Regions from separate parts of the Homo sapiens genome. Here regions 2 and 3 are each linked to region 1. The links are contacts of gene promoters, found by promoter capture Hi-C in blood cells and fetal thymus (Javierre and others, 2016). All regions are on one chromosome and are shown on one strand. The core of a region is centred on a gene start or on the middle of the fragment in contact, and the rest is flanking DNA. Distances in the headings are between cores, read along the strand shown. Region 1 holds the start of CYB561 (cytochrome b561). Region 2 overlaps MAP3K3 (mitogen-activated protein kinase kinase kinase 3). Region 3 overlaps DCAF7 (DDB1 and CUL4 associated factor 7).

Region 1 (4,845 bases), core at 995-3,494:
GTTGTCCAGGCTGGAGTGTAATGGCGCGGTCTTGGCTCACCACAACCTCTGCCTCCTGGGTTCAAGTGATTCTCTTGCCTCAGCCTCCGGAGTAGCTGGGATTACAGGCATGTGCCACCCCGCCCGGCTAATTTTGTATTTTTAGTAGAGATGGGGTTTCTCCACGTTGGTCAGGCTGGTCTCTAGCTCCCGATCTCAGGTGATCCGCCCGCCTCGGCCTCCCAAAGTGCTGGGATTACAGGCGTTAGCACAACTCAGGAGGCCCTGGAACTCATCTTGTGCCACTCAAGAAAGGGCAGGAGGGGTCCTCTCCTTTCCCACCTTTCCCAAGCTGAAGGACTGCACACTTCTCAGGCTTCCAAGGCAGGAGCTTCGGCAGCAGGAACAGGGTTGCAAGGTAGTTAGTCTGGGTGTCTGTCGTCCTGGGTTGGGACATCTGGGAGCTGGGGCAAGGCCTCTGGGCCCTAGTGCCAGAGAGCAGTTTGGTGGCGTTGCCTGTTCTTTAAAATGGGTTAGGTGTAGCCATGAGCCCCCCCATGCAGCGGGTGTGCAGGCCTCTCCCTCAGTCAGAACACCCTCACCCACCCCTCCCCACTTGAAGCAGGCCCTTGAGAACACTGCTGGCAGGGAGGCGGCTGCTCTTCCTCCTAAGGGAAAAGCCTGCAGCCCCGTGCTGCTGGGCCGTGGGGTGAGGGGGAAGCCAAAGGGCCCCTATCACCCCTCAGCAGGAGTCTCTCCTGGCTTTGGAAGGGGCTGAAGGCCCGGGGCTCTCACGAGGGAACTCAGCCCTGCTCAGCCGGTCAGGACTCCTCCTCCACGTCTAAATCCACAGACCAAACAAAGGACATGGCTCAGTTCCACCTTCAATCCACAGGGATTCTGCCTGTTAGCACGCTAAGGAAACTGTTTCTTACTTTAAATTATCCATTAATTTCCTCCAACTGAAAGATACTCTACAAATTTTCTGTTGTTGGAGGGTTTAAGCTTGGTCCCTCTGAGGGGGTGGGCCCTGCTGTGTCGGCCCCTTGTGTCTGCTCGTGGAAGGTGTGCCATGTGCCACCGTGTGCCATATGCAGCTGACACGCCTGTGCGTCTCGCCTGGCGCTGGAGACTGCTCTCTGTGTACTAAGCGAGTACTGGATCCCCAGGGCCTATCTTGCCCACTGCCTGTGGCAATACACAGGCAATACACAAAGCGCATTCAAGTAAGCAGGTCTCCCTGCCCCCCGGCCTCCCAGAACCTCGGTGCCTGGAGGGCAGGTGGGGGAGGGCGTTCCTGAATGGAGGCCGGTTTCCCTCTGCGGGGAGGAAACCCCATTTCCCTCCTACCCCTAGGCGCTTGCTACATCTGGCCCGGCATCAGACAGGAAAGAACCCTTTCTTCCCAGCTTGTAGGAAGTCTGAGCTGGGCCCCTTATCTACCCACAGCACTTCCTGGACCGGGGGCCTGGACCGGGCTCCGAAGGGGCTGGCTCCCGGTCTTGGTCTTGGCCTCGGCGCCCTCGTTTCTCTGCGCTTTGGGCAGGGGAAGCTGCGGACGGCAAGCTCTCGGCTTTCGTGAGAGCCTGGTGGAATCGGTGTTCCCCGAAGGCTACTCTGCGGGGGCGGGGGCTAGTCCGGGCCTTCCCGGCAGTATCGTCTCCCCCGTGGGGGCTGGGGAGGTGCCCCCAGGGCTCCCGGAGCGGCGGCGTGGCCAAGGCCCGAACCGGGTCTGACATCTAGTGGCCTCCTGGGCCCGGGCAGGGCGAGGGCGGGGCAGGGAAGAAGGTGGAGGGCAGAATGGGAGGCGTGGAGCGAGAAAATCAGGAAGCGCGGGACCAAGCCGGGGAAGGGCGGCGGGTCTCGCCCCTGGCACCCGCTCTCCTCGGGGCCCGTCCCATCCCCCAGGCCTGGCCGACCCCAGGTCCTTCCGTGCGCAGTCGGGGCTCGCAAGGACGAATCCCGCGGCCCTCGAGGCAGGCCCGGGGGAGCTCCCGGCCCTCCACCCCCGCAGGCCGCAGATCCCACGCACCCCCGATCATGGGGGCCCCGGAGGGAGGTCGCGAGGCCGGGCTCACGGTGGCCGCGGTTCGCCCACGTGCGGGCCCGGAGCTGGCAGGGCCCGGTCCCGAGCGTGGCCGCAACCGCGGGGACCTGGCACGTGCGGGGCAGCCCCGGGGGCCGCGTACGCCACTTCCGGTCCCGGAGACACCGCCCAGCCCGCCGCCCGGTTGCCATGGCGACGCCGTCGCGCCACGGCCCGCAGAACCGGCCAAGCGACCCGGGCGCGGCGCGGGGAGGCTGAAGGGACGCTCGGGTAGGCAAGGTAGGAGGCCGGGCTGGGGGTGGGAGCGGAGCGCGCAGGGGTGCGGGGCGGGGGCGGCCCAGGTGAGCCCTGACTGCGCAGGGAGGGACAGCGCGGGGCTCCCGAGTAGCAGCCGGCCTCGCACCTGCCCCTTGCGGCCGCGCACTGGACTGCGGCGCCGACCCGCACCCTGGGCCCGAGGGCTGCAGGGCTCGCCCGCCCTCTCGGAGCCGAGCCTCTCCCGGTCCAGGCGGCCCCTGCCCTGGCCTGCCCGGGTGCCGGGTCTCTGCTGAAGTTAGAACCGAGACCCCCGCTTGCTGGTGACCCCGAGTTTGGATCTTTGCTCCTGCGCCGCGTTCTAGAGCAAGGTAGGGTGCAAATGGACCAACCAGCCTTTGCCACGGCTGCCCTCTTGAAATCTGAAACCGGAGCCACCGCCTCTTGCCCCGAGCAGGGCCCGGGCTGCAACGTGGAGCCGCAGGTCCCCGCCTGTGTCTCCCGACGCCCCCAGCTTCTGAGCGCGAGGGTGGGAGTTTCCCGAGTGGGAAAGCCCCATGGCTTCGGTGGCCTCGGTGGCCCTGTGGTGGGTCAGGCCGGTGCCAACTGCGCTGAGGGCGGAGCTGCCGCCACCTTGACACCTGGGAGATGGCAGGGCCACCCTCCCTCCCTCCCTCCCTGCCCTGTCCCCGACTGTATCACGGAGCGAGGATCATCCGTGTGGATCTGGGGTCCCCTTCCCAGACTTCTCCTTTCTGGTCGTCCTCCTCTCATTCATTCCACCTTGGCAGCCTTTGTGGATTTTCTGACTCCGTAAATGAAGTTACATCTAGGGCGCCTAGATTCTGCCCCTTTGGTTTAATAGCTAATGAAAAAAAAAAAAAAAAAGCTTTGCCACCTCCTCTAGGTGCCTGGATTTCTCCCGGTGAAATTTGATGGAGGCAGGAAAATACGAGGCGGTGGCAGCCCCACCTCCTTGCATGAGGGAGCCTCCTAGAGCTGGAGGTGGAACCACCCTGCTTGTCCCACTCCTTTTCTTTCTTGCTTTATTGCTTTCTTGCTTTCCTTACTTTCCTTCCTTCTTTTTTTTTTGAGATGGAGTCTTGCTCTGTTGCCAGGAGGCTGGAGTGCAGAGGGCAATATCAGCTCACTGCAACCTCCATCTTCCGGGTTCAAGCGATTCTCCTGTTCCAGCCTCCCTAGTAGCTGGGATTACAGGTGTGTGCCACAACACGCAGCTAATTTTTGCATTTTTAGGAGAGACGGGGTTTCACCATGTTGGCCAGGCTGGTCTCGAACTCCTAACCTCAAGTGATCTGCCCGCCTTGGCATCCCAAAGTGCTAGGATTACAGACGTGAGCCACCGTGCCCAGCCTTGTCCTACTACTTTTCTGCCCTCACCACTTTTCCTTGGCAGGCAGAGCTTGGGCTCCTGCTAATACTGGGATGGTTCAGTGGCATTAGATGGCATTGGTGGAGGGGAATGAGAAATTAACCCCCTCTGAAAGCGTAGCTTCACTGGGAAAAAGCACTCTACTGTCTGAACAATTCATAAATGAATTTTGGGAATATACAATGTCACAGATTAAAAGCAGACCATCCTGTGTTCTTCCAGCCCCAGGAGCTTCTGCTTGGTGTGCAGGGGCTAATGGTGGACAGCAATGGAGTGTAGATTTATTAGAGACGGCTGCCATCTGGCTCTCTGTGGCCCCAAACCTCATGTGTCAGCAGTGTGACTCTTTCTAAGGTGCTCTTAGGACCAGATTTCGTTTTTGTAAGATTGGTCTTTGATGGAATGCCTACTTTGTGGCAGGCACTGTGCTGGGCGCTGGCACACCTTTATCCACTTACTCCTTCTGTGTTCAATAAGGTAGCTCCAGATATCCTCCACTTTATAGATTAGGAAGCAGGCTTGGAGAAGGGACTTGGCTTGTCCAGGAGCTGATGGTTATAAATAATGAGTCTGTTTTGAAATCACATCTCTCTAACCTGGGCTGCGCTGGGCCTTTCATGGGCCGTTGGCCCTCTGGCCTTCACGGGCCCCGTCTTCCATAAAAAAAATAATAACAATTGGCCCGGCGCAGTGGTGAAAGCGCGTCTCTACAAAAGATACAAAAAATTAGCCAGGCATCGTGGAGCACGCCTGTAATCCCAGACTCGGGGAGTCTGAGGCAGGAGAATTGCTTGGACCCGGAAGGCAGAGGTTGCGGTGACCCGAGATCTTGCCATTGCACTCCAGCCTCAAAAAAAAAAAAATTAATAAAAATTATATTTTACAACTGCATTGGTATAAATACAAGTATAGTCCAGACTGGATTACAATTAATTTTAAAAACAAAACATTTTAGGGCTGGCTCATGTCTGTCTGTAATCCCAGAGCTTTGGGAGGCTGGGGCAGGAGGACTGCTTGAGACCAGGAGTTTGAGACTAGCCTGCACAACATAGTGAGACCCTATCTCTCCAAAAAAAGAAAAAATTAACTGGGCATTTCAGCATAGCTGTAGTTCCAGCTACTTGAGAGGCTGAGGTGGGAGGATCCCTCGAGCCCAGGAGTTCGAGGCTGC
Region 2 (4,845 bases), core at 1,714-4,213, 230 kb before region 1:
TGCCATGTTGTGAGAGGGCCCCATGGCAAGGAACTGCAGGTGGCCTCTAGGAAGGGAACTCAGAGAAGCCCTTGGGTGACATTCAGAAGAAAAGAGGAACCACAGTCCTACAGCCACAAAAAAACTGAATTCTGGCAACAACCATCTGAGCTTAGAAAAGAGCCTCAAACTCAAGAAAGGCAGGCAGCCTGGCTGACACCTTGATCGCAGTCTTGTGTGACCCTCAGCAGAGGACCCATTTGAGTCATGCCTGGACTCCTCACCCAGGGAAACTGGAAAATGATAAATGTATATTGTTTTAAGCCTCTAGGTTTGTGGTAATTTGTTATGGAGCAATAGATAACTAATACAACTGTCTACCATCATAAATGATCAGCCTAACCAATCCTACAGTGTAATTTTGATATGGTTTACTCCTTACCTTTCATCAAGAAACAGCAAAACTAAAATATATCCAATGAAAAACATAACCTGTCACTTTAGAACCAGTCGTATGTTAAAACACTACTGAAATGAGCTGGGCGTGGTGGTGCCTGCCTGTAGGAACAATGAGAGGACCACGATGAAGAAAAATCTGTTAAATCCTCACCCAACAACAAGGAAACTATGTAGTTTAGATCCTTTAGATCCCATCTTTGGCAGAAATTGTTATTTGGCCCTTAAAAAGGGACAATCCATATTTGGGCAGGCCTGGTTTATAAAAGAGCTTTCAAATGGGGTTCATGTCCCTCAGTTCTGCACTGTGACTACTAAGAACCCCTTGTTATGAGCTTGGTCTGCTGATACAGGCCACAGGCATATCCCAGCCCCCCTATACTCACGCACTGCTCGCTGGTCTCTGGGATGAACTCCCCCTCACTGTTGATGCTGGTGTAGGACCCCTGCCGGGCAATGTGCTGCTGCCGCTCAGGAACATAGCCAGGGGGAGGTGAGCTTCGGCCAGGGTTCTGGGAGCCTAGAGCACATAAAGGAGGCTTTCAACAACAGAGCCCAGGGTGTGTGGCCCAAGAGGAGCAGGCATGGGGCCAACTATTAGGCCCTAGAGGTCAGGAATGTGACTCAGATGGGTCATGGCACCAACGTCCAGCATGTGCCAGCTCCCTCAGGCAAACAAAGTCCCTTCCTAATAGGAAACAAACTCCAGAGATGGAGCAGGCACTACGGCATATCCGACCAAAAAAACCTTGACACAAAACAGAAACCAGAATAACCCCTAGGAGACCATTTTAGCTGGCAATCAGACTAGCTTTTAAAAAAATTCTTATATATAATTACTCCTTCATAATGTCACCTTCTCTCTTCCTCTAGAGCACTAATGCCATTTCCTCCCATCAGCTCAATACATCAGCTTAGTCCTCTTTAGTTTTGGGTCCAAGCAGTATTTTGAGGGTGGGGACCAGGGAAAGGTAACTGAATATACCTGTGCATCTCTCTCTGTTGCCCTGTTCCCCCAGCCAGTGTCTCCCCTTATTTGTTCTCTACTTGTATCAGGTAAAAAGGCCTTCGTGATGGTCTGGCCAGGATCAAAAGGCAGGCTTCTCCATTCCTACCCACTCCCACACTTCCTGGCTTATGAGTAATGATATTACCTTTTTTTTTTTTTTTTTTAAATTGAGACAGGGTCTCACTATGTTGCTCAGGTTGGTCTGAGTAATGATATTATCTTGCATTTATGTGGTGCTTTACTTTTTGTTACACATTCACAGTAATTAACCTCATTTGATTTTCAACATCTCTACAACAGAGGTTTGGCAAATATTTTTTGAGTGGCTGCTAAGTGGCAATCATTCCACAAGGTATTTTTACATTTGTTACTTCACTTAATCCTTTCAACAATCCTGAGAGGTAAGCATTTGCTTTACTTAACAGAGGAGGAGACGGAGACTCAAGGAACTTAAATCTTAAAAAAAAAAAAAACCCAAAACACCCAAAAACAATTATTTATGTTTTACAGATAAGAGACTATAAAACCAATTAACAGGTACTTTCACCACATCAGCTTGTAAGATGAAATGGTTTATCATCCTAATGTTAGTGAATGACAGAGGTGTGCAGTCTTACAAATGACACACTTTGTAAGTCACTGAGCAATGTTTTTCTGCCATAAGGGATTTTGAGTCCGAGAAATCAGGTCCTCCTTCCTCCTAGCCCAAGAGCTTTTTCTGACTGGCTGTGTTGCTTTCCATGATCAGAGAAGACAAAAATGAGGCCAAAAGTTTGCATCTTTTTTCCTTCCTAAGCTCACCAAACCAGAAGAGCCAATTTTCAGAAGGTTTAAAAAAAGCTTTAACTATACCCACACAAATATTTCTTGTAGCTTCAAAACTTAAACGTAAGACTCTTATCCTGAACCCTTTTCCTGTTCTGAAGGGAACAAATTTATCCTGTTGTTTAGAAAACCAGAGACACAAGAGCCCTCCATTCCCTTATCTACCACCCCTTACCTCTCTCCCACGACCCAGCAATTCCCAGACACCAGGAATAGAGTAGTACCATCCCTCAACAATGCAGGTTACTTTCCTTGCTGGCTGGTTTCTCCAGTCTAGTTCAGGGGCTGTAGCACTAGGTTTTCTGAAATGGAACTGCAGGCAAGATGCTCTGTGGAAATGGCTAAGGAAGCAAGAGAGACCAAGTTTGGTAGCTGGAGACCTAGGGAAGTACCTGACTCATTCTATTCTGTTTTGTTGTTTTGTTTTGTTTCAGAGACAGGGTCTCACTCTGTTGCCCAGGCTAGTCTTGAGCTCCTGGGCTCAGGCAATCCTCCCCCTTCAGCTACAGGCAGGTGCCACCATGCCTGGCTTCTCTCCTTTCTTGATGATAGATCCCTAGTCCAGACCAGTTTTAGATGGAAAATCTGAGATACACAGTTTTAGTTTTATGTATGTGTGTGTGTATACATGTTTATACATATATGTATATATATTTCCTATTGCTCAAAAACTCATGTGTGGCCAGGTGCAGTGGCTCACACCTATTATCCCGACACTTCGAGAGGCAGGAGAAATGCTTGAGGCCAGGAGTTTGAGACCAGCATGGGCAACATGGTGAGACCCCATCTCTACAAAAAATATTTTAAAAATTAGCCAGGCGCACACTTGTGGACCCAGCTACTTGGAAGACTGAGACAGGAGGACTGCTTGAGCCTGGGAGGTTGAGGCCGCAGTGAGCCGTGTTTGGACCACTGCACTCCAGCATAGGTGATAGAGTGCGACCCTGTCTCATAGACAAAACAACAAAGCTCATGTGGAGCCAGGAGCACTCAGCCTGTACCTGGAAGTAGAGGTAGTGCACCAGGGACTAAGCATCTACAGCAGAGGGTGCTCAAGAGCCCAGTCCAGGGTCTTAGAACATCCCGGAAAAGAGGGTGGGCCTGACAGACTGATGGAGCTCAACAAACTCCCTGAGCCAGAGAGACTCCCACTATTTCAAAGACCCTCAGAAGGAAGAAAAATACTTAATGGAAAAAAAGAATGGCGGGGAGGCTTGCTCTGTGTGTGTGTGTGCACTTTTAGGAACAGGGTCTCGCTATGTTGCCTAGGCTGGTCTCAAGCCTTGGCCTCCCAAAGTGCTGGGATTAAAGGCATGGGCCCCCATGCCTGGCCAGAGGGTTGCTTTTTGAAAGACATTTTCTAAGAAGCTTAAACTATTGTTTTTCAATGACCTTTAAGAAACTGACACTGACTCTTTTTTTTGAGACGGAGTCTTGCTCTGTTGCCCAGGCTGGAGTGCAGTGGTACAATCTTGGCTCAAGGCAACCTCCGCCTCCTGGGTTCAAGCAATTTTCTGCCTCAGCCTCCTGAATAGCTGGGATTACAGGTGGCCGTCACCATACCCAGCTAATTCTTATATTTTTAGTAGAGACAGGGTTTCACCATGTTGGCCAGGCTGGTCTTGAACTCTTGTCTTCAGGTGATCTGCCTGTCTCAGCCTCCCAAAGTGCTGGGATTACAGGCGTCAGCCACTGCACCCAGTTGAAACTGACTCTTTAATTCTTCTATATTAAGTCAGTTGTTCAGAACATATGGTTCATGTGGTTGTGCTGAATACATTTTGAGAATTCACCACTGAACTGGTATTGGAGAATACTTCCAATCTCTTCTTGGACACATCACCCCAGCCTCCCTCCAAGGATGTCTCTCTGGCAGGAAAGCTAACATGGGGTCCTCAGTAATCTGGCCTCCCCACCTGACTCCAGAGCAAAGGCCAGAAACAAAATTGCTCTGAAAACAGGCATAGAATTTTGCTGGATTTCCTGTCTCAACATCTCACTCACAGGGTAGAGGCCACCAATTCTGAGATAAAGTGGTATCTGAGCCATGCCTTTGCAATGGTCTCAAACAGCCCATGGAAGAGAATTTGTCCTATTTTCTAAGTCCTAACAGAAACTAAAGTTACTCTGAGTGTAAATTTAGGGATATTGTACCATGAACTAACAGAGCAATAAAATCAGTCAAGGCAATTTTTTTTTCTTAAAAAAATATTGTCACCTCTCATTTAACCCTTACTACACCCCTGCAGTGGTGGTGCATTATCATCATCCACATTGCGCAGAGGGAAACCCAAGCCCCAAAGCCATAAAGTGACTTTATGGTGGGGCCGAAGCGAGAAAACAGGCTTTGTGACTCTCATACAGTTCAGCCAAGGCAATTTGGGGACCATAATTTATTTCCAAAAAGGGCAGGCATGCTGCTCAACACAGTGGCACAAGACATAACTTCTCCTTGAACTGGCCAGGCCATCTGTCCCCCATGAGTAATCCCTATGGAGGATGGAGATCCCATCCACAAGGAAATATGACAGCCTGCCAGGTGTGGGAGGGAGGCTAACGTGGGGACTTCCTGGCAG
Region 3 (4,845 bases), core at 806-3,305, 130 kb before region 1:
TCAAATACTTAAGAGTAGTTCCCATTTTCTGGGTTGGACCTAACAGACAACAGCAGGCTAAGTTGTCATATAACTAAAATGTAGCCGCTTGTTCAACTTGATGCCAAGAGGGTTTCCAGAAGTTCCTTACTGGTCCTCTCTGTGGGACAAACTCTTCATTTGACCCCTGGTTTAGCAGCAGTCAACTCTAGAAGTCTTGTAACAGGGCTTACCTTCAGGAGTACAGAAAGCCAAAGACAACCCCTTACTAAGAATGATAACCTGGGTCACATCTTCCTATGCTGTTGACAACCTCAAGTTTCTGACCTAAGATCAAGGCATTCCTTTTATCTGTATAGATATTAATACCCCTAGCTGTGCAGGGTAAGGTAGAAAAGAACAGGAAATAGTACCCACAGGAGATGAGAGTACCAGGAGCATGCAATGGCTGTAGGAGGAAAAGACTTATGGGGATTTTCCAAAATCACTGAGAAGAATGCTTTGATTAAAATGCAATTGGCCGGGCGCAGTGGCTCACGCCTGTAATCCCAGCACTTTGGGAGGCCAAGGTGGGTGGATCACCTGAGGTCAGGAGAGTTCGAGACAATCCTGGCCAACATGGTGAAACCCTGTCTCTGCTAAAAAATACAAAAATTAGCCAGGGGTGGTTGCGGGCACCTGTAATCTCAGCTACTCCGGAAGCTGAGGCAGGAGAATTGCTTGAACCCAGAAGGCAGAGGATGCAGTGAGCCCAGATTGCGCCATTGCACTCCAGCCTGGGCAACAAGAGGAAAACTTTGTCTCAAAAAAAAAAAAAAAAAAAAAAAAAAAAGCAATCACAAATAGCTCTTCTCAGTTTTCCCAATAAACACAGAAGCATCGCCATCAAAATAAAATATATTCCATTGCCTCCACTGCCAACAGTAATGAAAGTATAAAGATTAAGTGAACATACTAGGATTTGGTAAAACATTTATAGAGAAAAATGAATAATTACGTTTGTCTCTCAGAAAATTTTTTCTCTTCCTGTCTCCCTTCTTTCCTCCCCAAATCTAATCTGTTTCAAGATAAGTATTACTCTAAAGTTATTTTTTAATCACATCAGTTCCCAGCTCCTCTATAAGAGACTTTGTTATTTAAAAAAAGCAACCTCTGGCATGAAAAGAACAATGACAGACCGTAGAATAGGTCATTTACATTAGCCAAAAAAAAGCATTAGTTTACAATAGTGTTGTTTTCCCGTTTTTGATACATTACTATTGTCAATTTAGACAAGAAGATGTTATGTTATGATTTTCTACATAAATTGCAGAACAATGAGAGAACAAGCTGACCTCTTCCTGTGCGGAAGGCACAGGAAGCATTTGAGGAAAGACGAAATGGAAAAGCATCTTACCTCTTTGTCATGGGCGATCAGCTGGGTCTTCACGTGGCCAGACACGAGATTCACTCGCCCTAACACCTGCCCTGTCTCCAGCCCCCAGATGGTGCATGTCGTATCAATGCTTGAGGTACCTGCAAACAACCAGTGCAAGTCAGGGCTGACGGGACCAAGGTTCTCATGCAAGCTTCCCTCTTGTGTTTACTCATCTGCTCAGCCCAGGGAGCAGCATACCATAAAGACTACAGAAAACAAGGTGGGGGCTACCGGCAGAGCCACCGAGGCAGTCAAGTCTTCAGTCCTCACCGTAGGACCTTAGATTCTAACTGGAGAGACAAGATCTATACACACGGAAAGCTCACCCACACAAAGGAATTAATAAATAACCACATTCCACGCCTAGCCTACTTCCCACTGAGCCTTGTTCTAGGATGTATGGCCCAGTGTGACATCTGAGAAAATTTATTTTGGCTTCTTCCAGCTGAAATACATACTCCCTAACTCCCTTACCTAAAAGATAAGGATCCACCTCATTCCAGTCAAAGGAGGTCAGGGGAGCACAGAAATCAGAGTTCTTATTATTGTTTAGCAAACACTCCAGCCTGGTCTCTGTTTCACCAACCTGAAGGAACAAGAATTTTAAAAAAAATCAGCCAGTCTTATCCTCATAAAAAGTCTTTTAAAAAATCCCTGTTTAGAAAATATCTTAGCAAACATAAGACATGAGGGGAAAACATTTTTATCAAAAACAGTAATAAACCCAGGACTCCCTGAATGCTACTTTTTCCCATACTTTCTCCTCTGCCCAGCTTTGTTTTCTACATTTTCATCCCTGCACCTTCCTAGAGGAGAGGTCTTCTCACTTTGCCCAGCCTGGAACCTCTGCACAGGTGTACTAAGGCCACGCCCATGCTACAGAGGACGCTGCTGCTGATGAGCTCAGCTGAGGGTGGAGGGAAGCCTCCAAGATCCACTCACACACTTTATCAGAATCAATGGCCTGGTATTTCATTTAGTTTACTCAAAAATACCTTGGCTGCAAACAGAATATGAGTTCCCAAGTATTCCCACCTCCACTGAAGGCCGTCATCATCACCTCGGGTTGACTGAGCTGACTGCAGCCAGCAGCCAGACTTCATGGAATCTTGACTTGATATACTAGAAAATCTGCTGAGCCAAACGAGGCCAGTCCATTTAAGCTTCGCTTGCTTCTCCTGTGCTGCAATGACACTCGCTGCCTCTGACCCCTGTCTGTTCTGTGACTTTTCACTGCTAACAGCTGAGGCTGAGAAAGCCCACTTGTCTGGCTGCTAATAAAGCATCCGCTTACCCTCCACACACGGAGATAGTCACCGCTTGTTGCCAGTAGGTCTGGATAGACGCCTTTTGTGTCAGGGATCCACATGAGCTTTGTGGTGGGGTATGGGTGGTCAAAGGTGTTTCTGCAAATAAACTCTGAACTCTCCTCATCTAAACCAACAAGCTGAACCTGTAACATACCAAAGTTGAGCCACATAAGCATTTGTGAGCAGTACAGCAAATACATTAGATCCCTGGTCAGTGACAGAGGTTTTTTTTGTTTGTTTTTTGTTTTAAAGACAGGATCTTGCTCTGTTGCCCAGGCTGGAGTGCAGTGGTGCAACCACAGCTCAGTGCAGCCTCCACCTCCTGGTCTCAAGTGATCCTTCCACCTCAGCCTCTCAAGTAGCTGGGGTTAGAGGCATGCACCACCAGACACAGCTAATTTTGTTCATTTTTTGTAGAGACAAGGCCTCACATGTTGCCCAGGCTGGCCTTGAACTCCTGGGCTCAACTGATCCTCCCACCTCAGCCTCCCAAAAGTGCTGGGATTACAGACATGAGTCACTATGCCTGGCCAGTGACAGAAGTCTTGACACTGTACTACACTAAACTGCAGAATCAAAAACGATTGCCATGAGAGGGTATCTAGTCCAACCATCCTCTGGCAGACAAGGACACCCAGACTCAAAGGGGTGGTTACACTCAACACTGCAAAGCCAGTAGGAGACAGAGATTACAGGTTTTCTGACTCAAGTCTGCATTCTTGACTCCAACTACATAAGTGCACTATCTGCCAGGCCAGGCACACCTTCCCCTGAAACCCCTAAGGTATTTGAAAATGACCAGGGGTGGTTCTTGGCTGCCACAATGACTGAAGTGCTGAGGACATTTGGTGCTCAGGGGCCAGGAATATGAAACACCCTTTGCAATTTCATTAAACAAACTAATGCTCACTTAAAAATCCAATAGTGCACAACCCTCACCAACCCCAAACTCAACACTGGCTCATTATGTTTACACATAAAGGTATGTCAAATGACCGTTTGAGAGCCCAAACCACTGTGACTGGCAAAAAAAAAGTCGGCGCCATTGATGAGAAAGTCCCACCTAGCTCTGATCACTTTTTCTTAGAGTCAATTTTAGCCCACCATTAACTTCCAATCTTTGCTGTCAAACTCAATCTGGCTCAATGGGACACTAACTGTACATTTGCTTATGAACTTCCAACTGGAAGATGGAATAGTGGGGATATTTGGTAAACATCCACAATAAGGGGAAAAGCACTAACCAGACAACACAAAATAAAATTCCTTCTACTCATCTTTCTGACCTCAGTCTCAGACACACCAGTATCTTCCAGACATTTTCCCCCCAAAGTTAGGTATAGTTGCATATAATAAAACCCACTCAAGTGTACAGTTAAATGAGTTTTGGCAAATGTACAGTTGTATAACCCCCACAGTAAGATATAAAACATTTCCATTAACCCAGAAAGCTCTCCCAGGCTCCTCCGCAGTCAACCCCTCATACCTACCCCAAGTAGCCACTGATCTATGGTTTTGTCTCTCCATAATACGATATAAATAGAATCAGATGGTCTTGAGTCTTTGTGTCTGGCTACTTTCATCAGTACACTGCTCTTGAGATTCATCCATGTTCTTGTGTGTATCAGTAGTTGCTTCTTTTCTTACTGCTGAATAATATTGCATTATGTGCAATGTGGCAGTATAATTTTGGGTTGTTGAGATAGGGTCTCACTCTGTTGCACTGGTTCGAGTGCAGTGGTGCAATCGTGGTTCACTGCAGGCTCAACCTCCTGGGCTTAAGCAATCCTCCAGCTTCAGCCTCCTGAGTAGCTGGGACCACAGGCATGTGCCACCACACCCAGCTAATTTCTAAATTTTTTGTAGAGATGGGGTCTCCTTATGTTGCCCAGGCTGGCCTCGAACTTCTGGGCTCAAGTGATCCTCCTGGCTTGGCCTCCCAAAGTGCTGGGATTACAGGCGTAAGCACCGCACCCAAAAAATTTTTTATGTCCTAGTTGAGAAATCTTTGCCTAATCCCAGGTCCCAAATATTTTTCCCTGTTTTCTTCTAAAAGTTTTCTAGTTTTAGGCTTCATATTTAGGTCTCTGAGTCATTTCAAGTTAAATTTTTATATGGTACAAGATATGAATCAAGGTT

Evidence for each region. Contacts are between HindIII fragments. The CHiCAGO score rates a contact against its expected background, and 5 or more counts as called.
Region 2: a contact is called between a fragment that was not itself captured here and the fragment with the promoter of CYB561 in region 1, in 4 of 17 cell types (M0 macrophages, naive CD4 T cells, endothelial precursors and 1 more). The highest score is 6.1, in M0 macrophages.
Region 3: a contact is called between a fragment that was not itself captured here and the fragment with the promoter of CYB561 in region 1, in 3 of 17 cell types (M0 macrophages, endothelial precursors and M1 macrophages). The highest score is 8.0, in M0 macrophages.

What each region holds. Positions count from the first base shown.
Region 1 is chr17:63,443,705-63,448,549 of GRCh38, reverse strand. CYB561 (cytochrome b561) reads left to right here and starts at 2,244. Exons shown (of 6, transcript NM_001915.4): 1 at 2,244-2,305. RefSeq lists enhancers at 32-844, 1,348-1,487, 845-1,658 and silencers at 1,628-1,817, 1,988-2,547. The HindIII fragment of the contact is 2,186 bases long and covers 987-3,172 here.
Region 2 is chr17:63,677,876-63,682,720 of GRCh38, reverse strand. It overlaps MAP3K3 (mitogen-activated protein kinase kinase kinase 3), which reads right to left. Exons shown (of 16, transcript NM_002401.5): 7 at 822-955. LOC101927898 (a long non-coding RNA gene) reads left to right here. Exons shown (of 3, transcript XR_243740.4): 3 at 1-385. Among named protein-coding and RNA genes, the nearest start is that of LIMD2, 20 kb to the left of the region's middle. The HindIII fragment of the contact is 1,353 bases long and covers 2,287-3,639 here.
Region 3 is chr17:63,576,474-63,581,318 of GRCh38, reverse strand. DCAF7 (DDB1 and CUL4 associated factor 7) reads right to left here. Exons shown (of 7, transcript NM_005828.5): 2 at 2,691-2,849; 3 at 1,871-1,982; 4 at 1,376-1,494. Among named protein-coding and RNA genes, the nearest start is that of TACO1, 22 kb to the left of the region's middle. The HindIII fragment of the contact is 1,012 bases long and covers 1,550-2,561 here.